Regions from separate parts of the Homo sapiens genome. Here region 1 is linked to region 2. The links are contacts of gene promoters, found by promoter capture Hi-C in blood cells and fetal thymus (Javierre and others, 2016). All regions are on one chromosome and are shown on one strand. The core of a region is centred on a gene start or on the middle of the fragment in contact, and the rest is flanking DNA. Distances in the headings are between cores, read along the strand shown. Region 1 overlaps EFCAB6 (EF-hand calcium binding domain 6). Region 2 holds the start of EFCAB6-AS1 (EFCAB6 antisense RNA 1).

Evidence for each region. The method cuts DNA at HindIII sites, captures the fragments that hold promoters and counts their contacts. A CHiCAGO score of 5 or more calls a contact.
Region 1: a contact is called between a fragment that was not itself captured here and the fragment with the promoter of EFCAB6-AS1 in region 2, in 1 of 17 cell types (megakaryocytes). The highest score is 5.8, in megakaryocytes.

What each region holds. Positions count from the first base shown.
Region 1 is chr22:43,746,052-43,752,930 of GRCh38, forward strand. All of the region lies in intron 6 of EFCAB6 (EF-hand calcium binding domain 6), which reads right to left. Among named protein-coding and RNA genes, the nearest start is that of EFCAB6, 63 kb to the right of the region's middle. The HindIII fragment of the contact is 3,912 bases long and covers 234-4,145 here.
Region 2 is chr22:43,511,237-43,517,544 of GRCh38, forward strand. It overlaps EFCAB6-AS1 (EFCAB6 antisense RNA 1), which reads left to right and starts at 5,018. Exons shown (of 3, transcript NR_046563.1): 1 at 5,018-5,140. RefSeq lists an enhancer at 3,366-4,124 and a silencer at 3,399-3,746. The HindIII fragment of the contact is 5,518 bases long and covers 102-5,619 here.

The sequences.
Region 1 (6,879 bases), core at 940-3,439, 230 kb after region 2:
CGCCAAACCAGATAGGAAAAAATTAGACTACATTCAGAACCTCATAAACACAAACTTCCAATCCGGGGACAAGCGGGAAGCGGGGGCCGGGCATCGCTCACCTTTCACAAAAGCCTCGCCTCCCTGCCTCTGGGCTGATGCTCTCATTGCTCTGGCAGTTGCCCTCGCAGGCCAAGGACTACAAATTTCTTTACTGACCATAGGCATACCCTGCCTTTACCAAAAATCGAAAAAGCTTACTGAAAAAGATATCCAAATAAGATCCACAAAAATGGAGAAAAGAAAGCTGACCCCGAAAAAATGAGCTAAAGAAACCTAAAAGTCATAGTTGACACAATGAAGCAAAACTCTGGTTCGGGGTCTCCTTGCAGCCAAGATGAAGAGGGAAACTCGTGCTTATATAAAGTCCACAGGCCATGTAAACCTTCCCCCACATTCAATTTTTCATTTTTAAAATGCTTACCTGTAACGTATAGCTTATAGACTTCTTTTAAGAAACTCTAGCTACCCATTGAGCTTACGATACAGCTATGAAAAGGTGCCCCGTCTATAAGCTGAGGGACTTACAAGGGTGCCAGGCTGGGTGCGGTGGCTCATGCCTGTAACCCCAGCACTGTGGGAGGCTGAGGCAAGAGGACTGCTTGAGGCTAGGAGTTCAAGACTAGCCTGGGCAATATAGTAAGACCCCATCTCTACAAAAAATTAGAAATTAAAATTTTAAAAAGGGCTGCTGATCTATAAGAAATCTTTCCTTTCTTTCCTTTCTTTCTTACCCAGCCCACACTCATAGGATGGGTACTCCACCTCAGCTGCCACGGGCCAAGAATCTTGGGGCCCCTAAGAGCCCTGGCCTCAGCTCACTCACAGGACAGAGCTGCACACCAGCAGGGGCAAGCCTGGAAGATCAGAAGCCACTATGCTGACCCAGCATCCTGCTGCTTATCTGGACCTCATGCAAGAGGATGCTGCTTTGAGAAAGACAAACCGCAGAAGACTGTTCAGGTTACGTGAAAAGTTTCCCAGGCTGGGCCAATGCTGGGTACTGCCAAGTGGCTGTAGCACTTTGCCAAGAGCCTAGCCAGCCACAGACCACCTCACCTAAGAAATAGACCAGAATCACATTTTAGAGTAGAAAAAGACTTTGTCTGTCGTCTCCCCCAGCATTTCCCAAAATGGCGTTCCTCCAAACACAAGTTCTTCTGGATCTAGAGCTAAACAAACACATGCACGGAAAGGCTGGCTGCAGCAACATTCAATAGATTTCTATACAGCAGCCTCCTCTGAGCCTTCACTATGCTAACGTACATTGTGAATCCTCAAGGACTAGGGGAACAGCACTGGAGAAGCTGGGGCCGGCTCTGGGGGACCAAATCTGCAGGACCTAGTGGTTAACTGTATGTAGAGGGTGAGGGAAAGGAAAGTCGAAGTGGCGCCCAGTTTCTGCCTTGGTGACCTGACTGGATAAGATCAACAATGTAGAATATGTTGCAGGTTTGGGGAGGAAGACTGTTAGCTCACTCAGTGCACACTCAGCTGGGAGTGCCTACGTCCTCCCCGTTCACCCCCGTAGACATCTTTCTTCCTGGCAAATTGATCCAGTTGGTGGGAGAACACCCACCCTGTGCCCTCCTGCCTGCCTTCTGTTCATTCATGAATTCCTAGACTTAATGAGCCCCTGCTATGTACACACCATCTGAAGTCTTACCCTTCCTCTAAGGCCTGGTTCAAACCAATCACCCTCCCTGGGTACCTCCCCAGTAGCCAATAGGGGTGACTTTCTCTTACAAAGTCTTAGAGAGTTTACTGTCCACATCTCTCAGCTGTCAGTATGAGCAACTTGTATCACTTTATTCCCTAACTCCTCCTGATCTAGGTGATATACCGCCCAATAAACACATTTTTAAACCATCATAATGTGTTGCTTACGCTTGTGTCCCCAAGGTGATTTTAAGTTTCTGGAGGACAAGAATCAGGCCTTAGTCTTCTTTGTATCCCCAATAACCACATGGTGTCCCCACAACACCAGTAGGTGCTCAACAAATGCAGACGATGATGGTAAGAGGGTGACCGATGACTTCCAAGCCTGGTAACAGGTACGCCTGACTCCAGTTGCTTTCCCAGCAAATGCACCCATGATGCTGCTGACAGCACTCTCCTAAATACATCATAACCCCCTTATCAGAAACCTTCAGTCATCCTCCTCCTGACCCATGCCGAAGGGTTAAAACCTGGCCTTCAAATGCATCTTTTCCGCCAGTCTACCTTTCAAAACTGATCTGTCCCAACTTGCCTTGAGAAACATAACTCTACAGAATAGCCGCAGGGCTTGTCTCCTTGCGGTGCTCTGGCCACAGCCCGGCTTCCCTCTCCTCATGTCCTTTTCTTAGGCCAGGTTGCAATTCTGAAAACTACCCCACATCTCTTCCCCTATCCCATCCTCAACGTGCATTGCAAGTCTATCTATGGTCCAAACTCAAGCTCCAATATCACCTTCCTCATCCAATTGTTCCTGGCTATTCCAAGGAATATGAACTTTTCTACAAAACTTTCTTTATTCATACAATAATTATTTACTGAGTGTATATCCGGCTCTAGGAACTGTTCAAGGCACTGAAGTTACCACAGTGGACAGGACAGAAAAGGTGCCTGCTCCCACAGAACACAGATCCCAGTCACAAACAAGCAAACAAACAACATTTCAGAATGTTCTACGTGTTACGGAAAATGTACAGTTTTAGGGTAGTCAAAAGACATCTCACTAGAGAGCTCTCTCGGGCAGAGCTCTGAAAGCTGGGACATTTAACTGAAGTGTACTCGATGCACAAGCAAAAGACATGGGTATGTTCACCAGAGAAGTCTGACGGGCTCTGGCTTATGTTTTGAACGGATAACTCTGGCTGTTGTGTGGAATGCAGATTATAAGGGGCAAGAGAGGCAACGGGAAACCCAGCTAAGGAGTCACTGACAAAGCACAGGCCAGCAACAATGGTGGCTTAGGTATAATGATGGCAGTAGGGATGGATCAGAAGTGTCCGGGTTTGGGATCTAGTTCAGGATACAGTAGACATAACTTGCTGACGGCCTGCATATGGGAGGGGCACTGGTAAGGGAGAGGTAATCAAGACTGGTCCTTGGTTTCTGCTTGAATGAATGATGAGTGGTAGAACCATTTACTGACCTGGGAGGAAGGATTCTTGGGGTGGGGCAGGAGGACAGTCACGAGTTACGTTTTTGTCTGTGGACACTGGTGAGTCTGGGGCCTCAGAAGGAGATATAAACGTGGGCACCCTCAGCATATAGCCCTCTTATTCTTCCCCTAGTAGCTTTCAATCCTAGAGCAGCAGTCCCTAACCTTCTGGGTACCGGGGACCAGTTTTGTGGAAGACAATTTTTCCATGGGCCAGTGGGGAGGGGGTATGGTTTCGGGATGAAACTGTTCCACCTCAGACCATCAGACACTAGTTAGATGGTTCTCATAAGGAGCGTGCAACGTAGATCCTCGCATGCGCAGTTCACAATAGGGTTCGTGCTCCTATGAGAAGCTAATGCCGCTGCTGATCTGACAGGAGGCGGAGCTCAGGCGGTGATGCTCATTTGCCCACCGCTCACCTCCTGCTGTGCATTCTGGTTCCCGACAGGCCACCAACCAGTACAGGTCTGCAGCCTGGGGGATGGGGACTGCTGCCCTAGATGATCGCATGCCATCCTTTAACTTCCCACGTAAGAACTCGCATGCTTTGTGTCCTCTAAATACAAACTCCTAATTTTGTTGAGTAACTTCTATGTGCCCAGCACTACGGTGAGTTCATTTTATATTTATTCTCACACAGAATCCCAATAACACTGAGAAAACCTTGCAATATTGTTCACCCAGTTCACAGATGGGGAAAGTCTCGAAAGAGGCAAGACTAGCTTGCTCAGGATCACTCAGAGAGTCCGTGTTGGTGTTCAAATGCATGCTTGGACTTGCTAAGGCCAGAGCTCCAGACTGTACCCCCACACCATGCTGCTTTAAACATTTACCCCTACAATCTTGCGTTTGCACTATTAATTTGTCACACACAGGAAGATTAAAAAAAAAACCTTAGTCCGAAATAATTGCAAATTCTGATATTGCAGAATCTTTGCTGTAGTTCCTTCATGAAAGCTTTAGTAAATTAATGATACAGCAACCAAAAATAGGTCCTGGGGTAGAAGTATTCTCAATATAATTTTTTAATAAAATGCCAACGGATTATTTTGTGGTGTGAGATTCTCTAGATCAAAATATAAGTGCTACTCTTCATTTAGATGCACGGAGACACAAGAATAAAAGCTGTGACATTATTAATCACTATATTCAGTTATGATTGATAGGCTTTTCTGCGGGGAGGAAACAGTGTCTCAGATACAATCTGTCCCAACAGCTCTACGATATGCTAATATTTTCTTCAGATGAAAGAGGAGATGTGTTCAAATACCTGCTACAATAGGCAATTAATACCAAGTGCAGCAAAGTAGAGCTGATGAAAGTAGGATTAGGGGAATATTAGGAATTAACCAAGAGCTTGCTTGTTTTAGTAAATGGCCTCATTTTGAGCTTGACACAGCCTTTTTGTTAGGCAAACAGACTGCATTCCTGTCTATTCATTCATGCTAATGTAGTGTTATAAAATTAAGGTGTGTTTATGAAATGGTGGTGATTCTAACAACTGATTCTTTATCCCTTGAATATTAAATTTTTAAATGTCTTTTTAAAGAAAATTCACCTCTTTAAGAGAATGAATCTACCCACCACTTTTGTCTCTTCTTCATGAGGATATTACAGAGCAAGCCAGCAGCTCAGCAATTATAATTATTTACTAATTACTTCTGAAATGACTATCTCCACACACCTCCAAGGCACCAGGGTAATCCCATAAAAACCTGTGTCAGATCACTCAGTGTCCAACAGACACGCTTGTCACAGCCGACTGGGTAGACCAGATGTTCTGGCATCATGGTGCCTGAACCTTCAAGCATTTTTTTCTTCTGAGAGCTCCCTGACTTGGGTAGTGACACGGTACAAGAGCAAACAGCCTGGGGCTTAGAATGCTTTGTTTTTCTTTATGTACTTCTTTAACTGAATATACATTCTTTAATTCTAGTCTTCAGTGAAGAACGTATTTTTTTTGTGAGGGGGAGAGTCACGACCTTCTGAACATACACTGTATTCCTATACAGGTCAGAATAGCTTTCTGTTTCTCAGTACTTCCCTCAACAGGGCTTACAATGAGCCCTCACCTCACCTTAGGTGGTAAGATGGGATTTTCTTCCTGTCTTAGCCACTCCTATCTTCACCTCTTGTCGGGAGTTGACAAATGATAGATGGAATAAAAAAACTTACACTTCGTTAGCCTGGCAACACACTGCATCTTTGTTCAAGTTCTTTCTCTCCTGGCAGTCCTCGCCTGAAGAATGTGAGGAAGCTGTCTGAGGTCTCGGGCGCTGCCACCACTCCAGGATGGAGCTGGGACCCCACAGGCAGACAGGGTGCATGAAAGACTGACGCGGTGGAGGAAGTGTGAAAGGCAGGACACCAGAGAGAAAAGGGAAGAAAACTCCCAAATGCCCACTTGAAGTAGATGCTCCATGGACAGAAAGGCAACTCTGTGGTTGGAACACAAAGCTCCACCGACTTGTGCGGTGATGATGAACAGAAAGACTTCTCTCTGTGATGGACTGGGTCTAACTACAGGTGTAACAAGTTGTCACATTTGCTGAATGCAAAGTAAGCATCAACATATGCCTGCTTAACCTCTTTTCTCTCAGCTTCCTTCCATATCAATATGGGATAACAACGGCACCTGCCTCATGGGGTTCACCTGGGAATTAAATGCCTTAATGCGATAAAGCACTTAGAACAGCTCCTAGTACGTGCTCAGTGCTAGCTATTATTACTAGAGTTGGCAAAATCTGAAAAATTACATTAATGTCCAAAAGATTAAGGCCCCACCAGCCAAGAGGGGTCCCTTATATAGGTAGCTGAAGCAGATGGATTGGTTGCCTTCCCAAATCCATTCACCTCTAACCACTTCTCCTTTCCATTTTTTTTTTTTTTTTTTTGAGATAGAGTCTCCCTCTGTTGCCCAGGCTGGAGTACAGTGGCACTATCTCGGCTTACTGCAACCTCTGCCTCCTGGATCCAAGTGATTCTCCTGTCTCAGCCTCCTGAGCAGCTGGAACTACTGGTGTGCGCCACCATGCCCAGTTAATTTTTGTATTTTTAGTAGAGACAAGGTTTCACCATGTTGACCAGGCTGGTCTTAAACTCCTGACCTCAGGTGATTCGCCTGCCTCGGCCTCCCAAAGTGCTGGGATTACAGGCGTGAGCCACCATGCCCGGCTGCCCACTTCTCCTTTCTAACAAAACCCTCTATTTTCCATTTTGTTCAGACATCCGCCCTTCTTGGGTGGCCATGTGCTTCATAGGAGGGAGCCCAGTGGCCACACCAGGTGGTGATTGAGGTTGGTCCTGGCTGCTGGCGGGAACCAATTTCCTTGCCCGTGATTGCTTTAGGTGTGGGGCATAATTCCAGGCTGTGGGACACAGGGAGGGACTTTCTCTTGTTTTTAGAGTCATATTGGGAAAAAAGGGCCCACTGAAAAAAATTTGACATCAAAGCATCTGCCTGGAGTGCTGGCAACCTCCTGGTAACCAGGAAGAGAGGTAGGTGTGTTAGTCAGTCCTAGTCTCCACGCCCTCCTGACTTCTTGGGTGAGATAAGAAGCTCCTTATTTTCTAAGATAGTTAACTTGGAGTCTTCGGTTTCTCATAAGGGAAAAAAACCAAACATCTCTGTGTCCAAGGGGTTGCCAGCTGGTGGCAGATAAAGACGGCCACAGCAAGGGTTTTAGTGG
Region 2 (6,308 bases), core at 3,768-6,267:
AAAAGCTGAACCCCTCAGGTCTTATATATTGGGGCCCAGTAAGTGGCAGATGGGTCAGTCTTGGGGGCCCTGGTGAAGACCAAACTCAGCATACTGGAGGAAGCTTCCTGGCGGAAGAAGTGTGGCTGGGCCCTGAACAGCAGGAAGTCATGAAGGGGTTGGGATGCCCACCTCTGTGTGCCGGGCACTCAACGCATCTGTGTCGTTTAAGATCCACAGCAACCTGCAGGGCCAACCTACCTTCACAGAAGAGGGAGCTGAGGCTCGGAGGGGCCGCGGCTCGCCCACGGCTCAGTGAGTATCCGAGCTACCAGTGGAATATGTGGCTGCGGCCTGCAGCCTGTCCACTGCCAAGACCCAGGACTCATTTTCACATTCGTGGAGAGGAAGGGAGGGGCTGTTCTGAAGGTGGGTGGTGGGGATATGAGGTTAGTTCCTCCAGAAGCATGTCCCAACACAGGGCTGCGTGTTTGTGATTCATTAAGGGCAAGTGCTCCAGAGGGAGGGACATGGGGAGCAGGCGAGGACAGGGAAAGAGTGAGGTTGGAATTCGTTTGGAATTCATGCTTCAACCTGATCCTCCGGGGTCATAGGATGTGAATTGCCCCACAGAGTTGGTCCACACTGCTTCCTACCCACACCCCAGCCTTTTATATCCCTAAGGAAGTCAGGGATTGGCTGTAGGCCGTCCCTGAGCAGAGATGGGGGGTGTCTTACATCCCAGGCAAGGCAGCTTCTGCTCAGTCAAGGGCAACTTTCTCTAGAAGGAGGCAGAGGAGAGGCCTCCTAGCAGCTGGGGTCTGGGCAGACCAGAGCATCCACCACTGTCCACCTCCTGCAGCCCCAGATCCGTGTGCTTCTCACACTTACTGCATCCAGGCTTCTCCAGTTCCCTGGTTGGTCAGAATTCCTGGGAAAACCTGGGTGGACGCTGTGCTGCTGCCATGGGTCCTGAGTCCGTAACCAACACTCCCTACCTTCCCCTCTACCTGGTCTGGATTCCCTCCCTCTGACCTAGCACTCATGCTGGCCCAGGGGCTTAACTGGTAGGGTGACCCTCCCGTATCCCTAGGGGCCGAAAGCCCTGGTTACTGTCCCCTGATAGGCTGTGGTGTGTGCACCTGCCCACTTACCGCTGGAACTGGCTGTGGGAGCACCAGGAGATGCCCCAGCAGGCCCCCGAGTGCCAGGCACACATCTCCCTGTCCCTCATGTGGCAGTAGTCCTCTTTCCCGGTGATGGTCAAGGCCATCCCCCTGCCAGTGGGGGGGCTTTGTTCTTCGCTGCCTGTCTCCTGGCTCAGGAAGCCCAGGTGGGCCAGCTGACACCAGAGCTTTCAGTTGAGATAGCCTTGATGGAAGCATGAACCTCTGGAATCCGGGGCCTATAGACTTACAGAGCCTGTGCTGCAAGGGACTAGAGGCATAAATTCCCCACGTTGGTCACAGGGTGTGATGGTGGCCTGGGCCACCTCCCCCCAGCCCTTCGTTCCTAATTCCATCTTTCACAGACCCAGCAGCAGGTAAGGCCACTGCTAAAGGTATATGCTGCATCATAAGGCAGAGTGCCCATTTCCACAGGGGCCACCGTGGCGGAGCACCCGTCCCTGCCCAAAAGATAGTCAACCAAAGTCAGCACAGCTTCCCAAGGGGCGTGCGGAGGTCAGGACCACTCTCAAGGTTGGCCTCCAACACATCTCCAATTCCTCTGTCCACCTGGCCCCCCTGAAAATGATGGTCACAGCAGGTGACAGTGCACCACCAAAAATTTAGCCAAGAAATAGTCCAGTTGTAGCTGCTGTGCCAAATATGGTGTGTGTACTCAGCAGATGAACAGTTTTAAATACGGGGCTGTGCGGCTGCTGATCTGATGAATGTGTTCTTTTCAAAGCCCATCAGGAAGGAGGAACAAAATGGGTTTGCATCCCACTGGATGACCAGTGATAGACATGTGTGGCCTTGGCATGAAACTATGCGAAGTGTTTCACTCTCTGTCACAATGTGGTCCAAAGAGGCGGGTATTCTGGCCGTCCTGACACTGGCCCACAGGTTTGACGGCGTCACGTTAATCCGACGTGAGCAGTAAGACATGGTTGGGATGCTCTCCAGATACCTGGGTAAAACTCATGCACCCTAGAGAGTAGGAGATATCCACAAAGATGCAGGAGTTGGCCACATTGGTTCAAATTTTAGGGGTCTGGAGGCATGGGGTGTTATGACCTGAATTGTGCATCCCCAGATCCATATGTTGAAGATCTAATCCCTACTGGGTGTGTATTTGGAGAAAGGGCCTTCGAGGAAGTAATTAAGGTTAAATGAGATCATAAGGTGGGACCCTATACCTTAATAGTACTGGTGTTCCTTTAAGAAGATGACGAACTGGCTGGGTGTGGTGGCTTACCCCCTAATCCCAGCTCTTTGGGAGGCTGAGGCAGGTGAATCATGAGGTCAGGAGTTCGAGACCAGCCTGGCCAATATGGTGAAACCCTATCTCTACTAAAAATACAAAAATTAGGCGTGGTGGCACATGCCTGTAATTCCAGCTACTCGGGAGGCTGAGGCAGAAGAATGGCTTGAACCTGGGAGGCGGAGGTTGCAGTGAGCCGAGATCACGCCACCGCACTCCAGCCTGGGCGACAGAGTCAAAAAAAAAAAAAAAAAAAGAAAGAAAAAAGAAGATGAAGAACTTTGGGAGGCCAAGGTGGGAGGATCCCTTGAAGCCAGGAGTTCAAGACCAGCCTGGGAAATATAATGAGACCTTGTCTCTACAAAAATTCAAAAAATAAGCTGGGCATGGTAGCACACACCTATAGGCCCAGCTACTCAGGAGGCTGAGGTGGGAGGATTGTTTGAGCCCAGGGATTCAAGGCTGCAGTGAACCGAGAACACCACTGCACTCCAGCCTTGACAATAGAGTGAGACCCTGTCTCTAAAAAGAAAAAAAATAGGCTGGGCGCAGTGGCTCACATCTGTAATCCCAGTACTTTGGGAGGCCGAGGTGGGCGGATCACCTGAGATCAGGAGTTTGAGACCAGCCTGGCCAACATGGAGAAACCCCATCTCTACTAAAAATACAAAAGAAATCAGCTGGGCTTGTTGGCGCGTGCCTGTAATCCCAGCTACTTGGGAGGCTGAGGCAGGAGAATCGCTTGAACCTGGGAGGCGGAAGTTGCGGTGAGCCAAGATGGTGCCATTGCACTCCAGCCTGGGCAACAGAGTGAGGCTCTGTCCCAAAACAAACAAACAAATAAATAAATAAAAGAAGAGGAAGAGACACCTGGTTCAGGCTTTCACTCGGCCTTTCCTGCTGGAATGGTTCTTACCCTGCGGGCGCAGGAACCAGCGTGGCCAGCTCCCACAGCACAAAGTTTCCAGTATTTGCGAAGTATTTGCGAAGCAAGAAGTGACCGTTGCCGGGGTTTGCGGACCCAGCGAACACATGGCAAGGGGCGGGCCTGGAAGGGACCCGCCCCCCGATTCCCTGACTCCATGCCTCAGTGAACACGCGGCAAGGCAGGCCTGGAAGGCTGCATTCCCCTGGCCCCCCGATTCCCTGACCTTACGCCCATTTTCTCCCAGTGGGCACGACGGTGTTTCAGTTTCCAGGGTGTCGGCATCAACTCCAGCCCTGGATTCCACCTCCTTTCCCCAGCATGTGTTACCGAAGCGAATGACAGAGATCCCTGCGGGGAGGCCCGGGGCGCCCTTCTCACATGCTGACCAGGGCATTGCAGGATCGGTGTTCACGCAGGCTCTGCTTCTTCCCCCGGTGATGGGTCCGGGTCTGAGAGCTGGATTCAAGTGGGGAAACTGGGGAGGGGATTGTTACTCCCCATTGGGGCTACTCCGTGAGGGCAGGGCCTGGCCTCCCAGTTCCTACTGCAGTCTGTGCCTGGCACACAGAGCCGAGGCTGGAGTGTGCAGAGGGGAGTAGATGGGGCCACTCTGGAAGGTCTCAGTGAGGGGCTCCCACTGACCCTGTGGGCACTGGGTGGAGGACAAGGGGGAGGTCTAAGCAGGGAAGCAGGCTCTGATTTGTGGTCTGGGAAGTTGGAGTGGGGAAGCTGAGGGGCAATGAGGCTCAGGCAGGGGCTGCGTGGGGGTGGTGCCTCCCAGACCCCTTCAAATGGGACCAGCTATGTCATATGTGGGGCCAGGTGCAAAACTGAAATTGCAGACCCCAGCTAGGGGTGGGGAGGTGAATCTCCCTTCCCATGGGCCGGCCACCCCAACCCACAGGTGGCCCCGAGGCGTCACACTCAACCTTAGAATTGGGAGTGGGCAAGAGGCCCCCACTCAGCCACCTGCTGAGCACAGCCTGGCACTGCCAGTCAGGCAGGGATGGCTGCTGCCTTCCTCATTACCTCCCGGACACTCCTGGGCACATACCTAACCCCAGTCCTCCTGGTGCAGGCCCCGGCTCTGGCTCCTGAGGGGCAGAAAGCAACAGTGGAAGGCAGGCCTCCCCCGCTGATGTGGTTCGTCCCCAGCCTGGGTGACATGCACCAGGGGTCATGGGACAAAGGTGGGGAGGGGAGCCCGGTGGCACTGGGGCACCAGTGGCAGGAAGTGCATGGCAAAGAACCTGACCCAGGAAGGCAGGAAGGGGCAGGAGTGCAGTGGAGGGTGGGACAGCTCAGGAGTCAAGGTGCCATGCTCCATTGTTTCATCAGACTTCACTTACAAAACATCTGTTGAAGATATAATTAAGAATAAGGAGACCACAGCAAAGCCTTAACCCCAAGTGCAGGCTCCTTCTGTGCGCTCGGCCCCTGGCAGCTGCCCTGGTTGCACGCCTGAGAAGCTGGCCCTGTCTGCAAGTCTGATGTTGGGCAAGGCCTTCAGCCCCTGTTGCAGCCACAGCGCCCTCCTGAGGCATGGGCGGGGGGTGCCGGCCAGCCTGGGAAGGAGCTGGGATAGACACCTGGGCTCGTCCTTCACACCTCCACGGAGATGTCTTCACCGTCTGAGCCGAGAACACCTGCCCAGAGTCTTGCTTTGGGAAGATATATTTGCATATCTGAAGTACCAGCTATAATAGAAAAGCCGCCGTGGAAACGTCTTCTTGGGGTGCCCCCGATCGCAATAACAGTCTGGGTGCACCATGACAGCTTTCGCTATGCACACAGTCACTTGGAAAGGTAAGCATATTTGAAAAGCGGGGTGGGCGGAGATAAGACGTATTTCCCAGCCTTTCAAACGCCCTTCATTCGTGCTTGCCGTCAGCTTCTGCCCTTCTCCTGCCTGGTCAGAAACGGTTCAGATGGGGATGGGACCCTCAGGGAGCGGGGTGTCAGGGGGTGCTTCTGGCCTCCTGGGAGAGGCCTGCAAGCAAGGACAGGGACCTTCCTTCCTGGCCCTGCGGCTCCTCCTGGAAGGTGAGAGAAGCTGGTGGGACCTGCCCACTCACTGTGGCCAGGCTGCTTCCAGCCACGGTGGGGGTTCGTGGTTATCGTGCCTCCGTTGAGAACCCCCTCTTCACATATGGCCTGGACATATGGTCCTCCATGCAGCCTCTGGAAAGAGGCAATCACCACTCCACTCTGCGGGGGTGGACAGTGTGGATCAGTGGCTTTGCCAAGGTCACAAAGGTGGATGGTTAATCCTGAGTTGGAGCCCAAGCTTTCGTCATTTGACAATCACTCCACATGGATGGTGTGCCCTGCTTTCAGGCTCTATTCCAGGCAGGGGGCTACTGCTGGAGTTTATACTTCCTGGGGAGAAAGACAATAAAGCCAGGGCCAAGCCATCTCAGAGCTGCCAAGTGAGGGTTCCGAGGCCAACAAAACAGTCACAGGGTATGGGGTGACCACGGAAGGGGACCAGGTCACATCAGGCTTCCCGAGGAGGACTCCAAGATGATAAGAGGGCGCCAGCCATGTTCAGAGCTGAGGATAGAGAGAACGTGCCAGGCAGAGGGGCTGGCAGGTGCCAAGGCCCTGGGGCAGGAGCAGGCTGAGCCTCTCCAAGGAATATAACAGAGCCCAGCATGGTAGAGTCAGACAGAGTGAGGGAGGGTGAGTGAGGTCCACAGGGGCAGGGATGCTCCCTAGGCTGGGTCCTGGGGACAGACAGGCAAATGGCCCAAGTTCCCTGCCCTTAAGGGAGGCCTGTTATCCAGTGCCACAGTAACTGTGTGACAGCCCCGTCTCCGTGGCACACAATGTGTTTAGGGCTCCCACATCTGGGGTCCGCGGGGTCAGTGAGGTGCTCTGCTGAGCCTGGCTGGCTGTTGCCTGACACAGGATGAATCAGTCAGGGTGACTGGGTGACTGGACTATGTCCCACTTCTCTCTCGCCCTTCGCGGA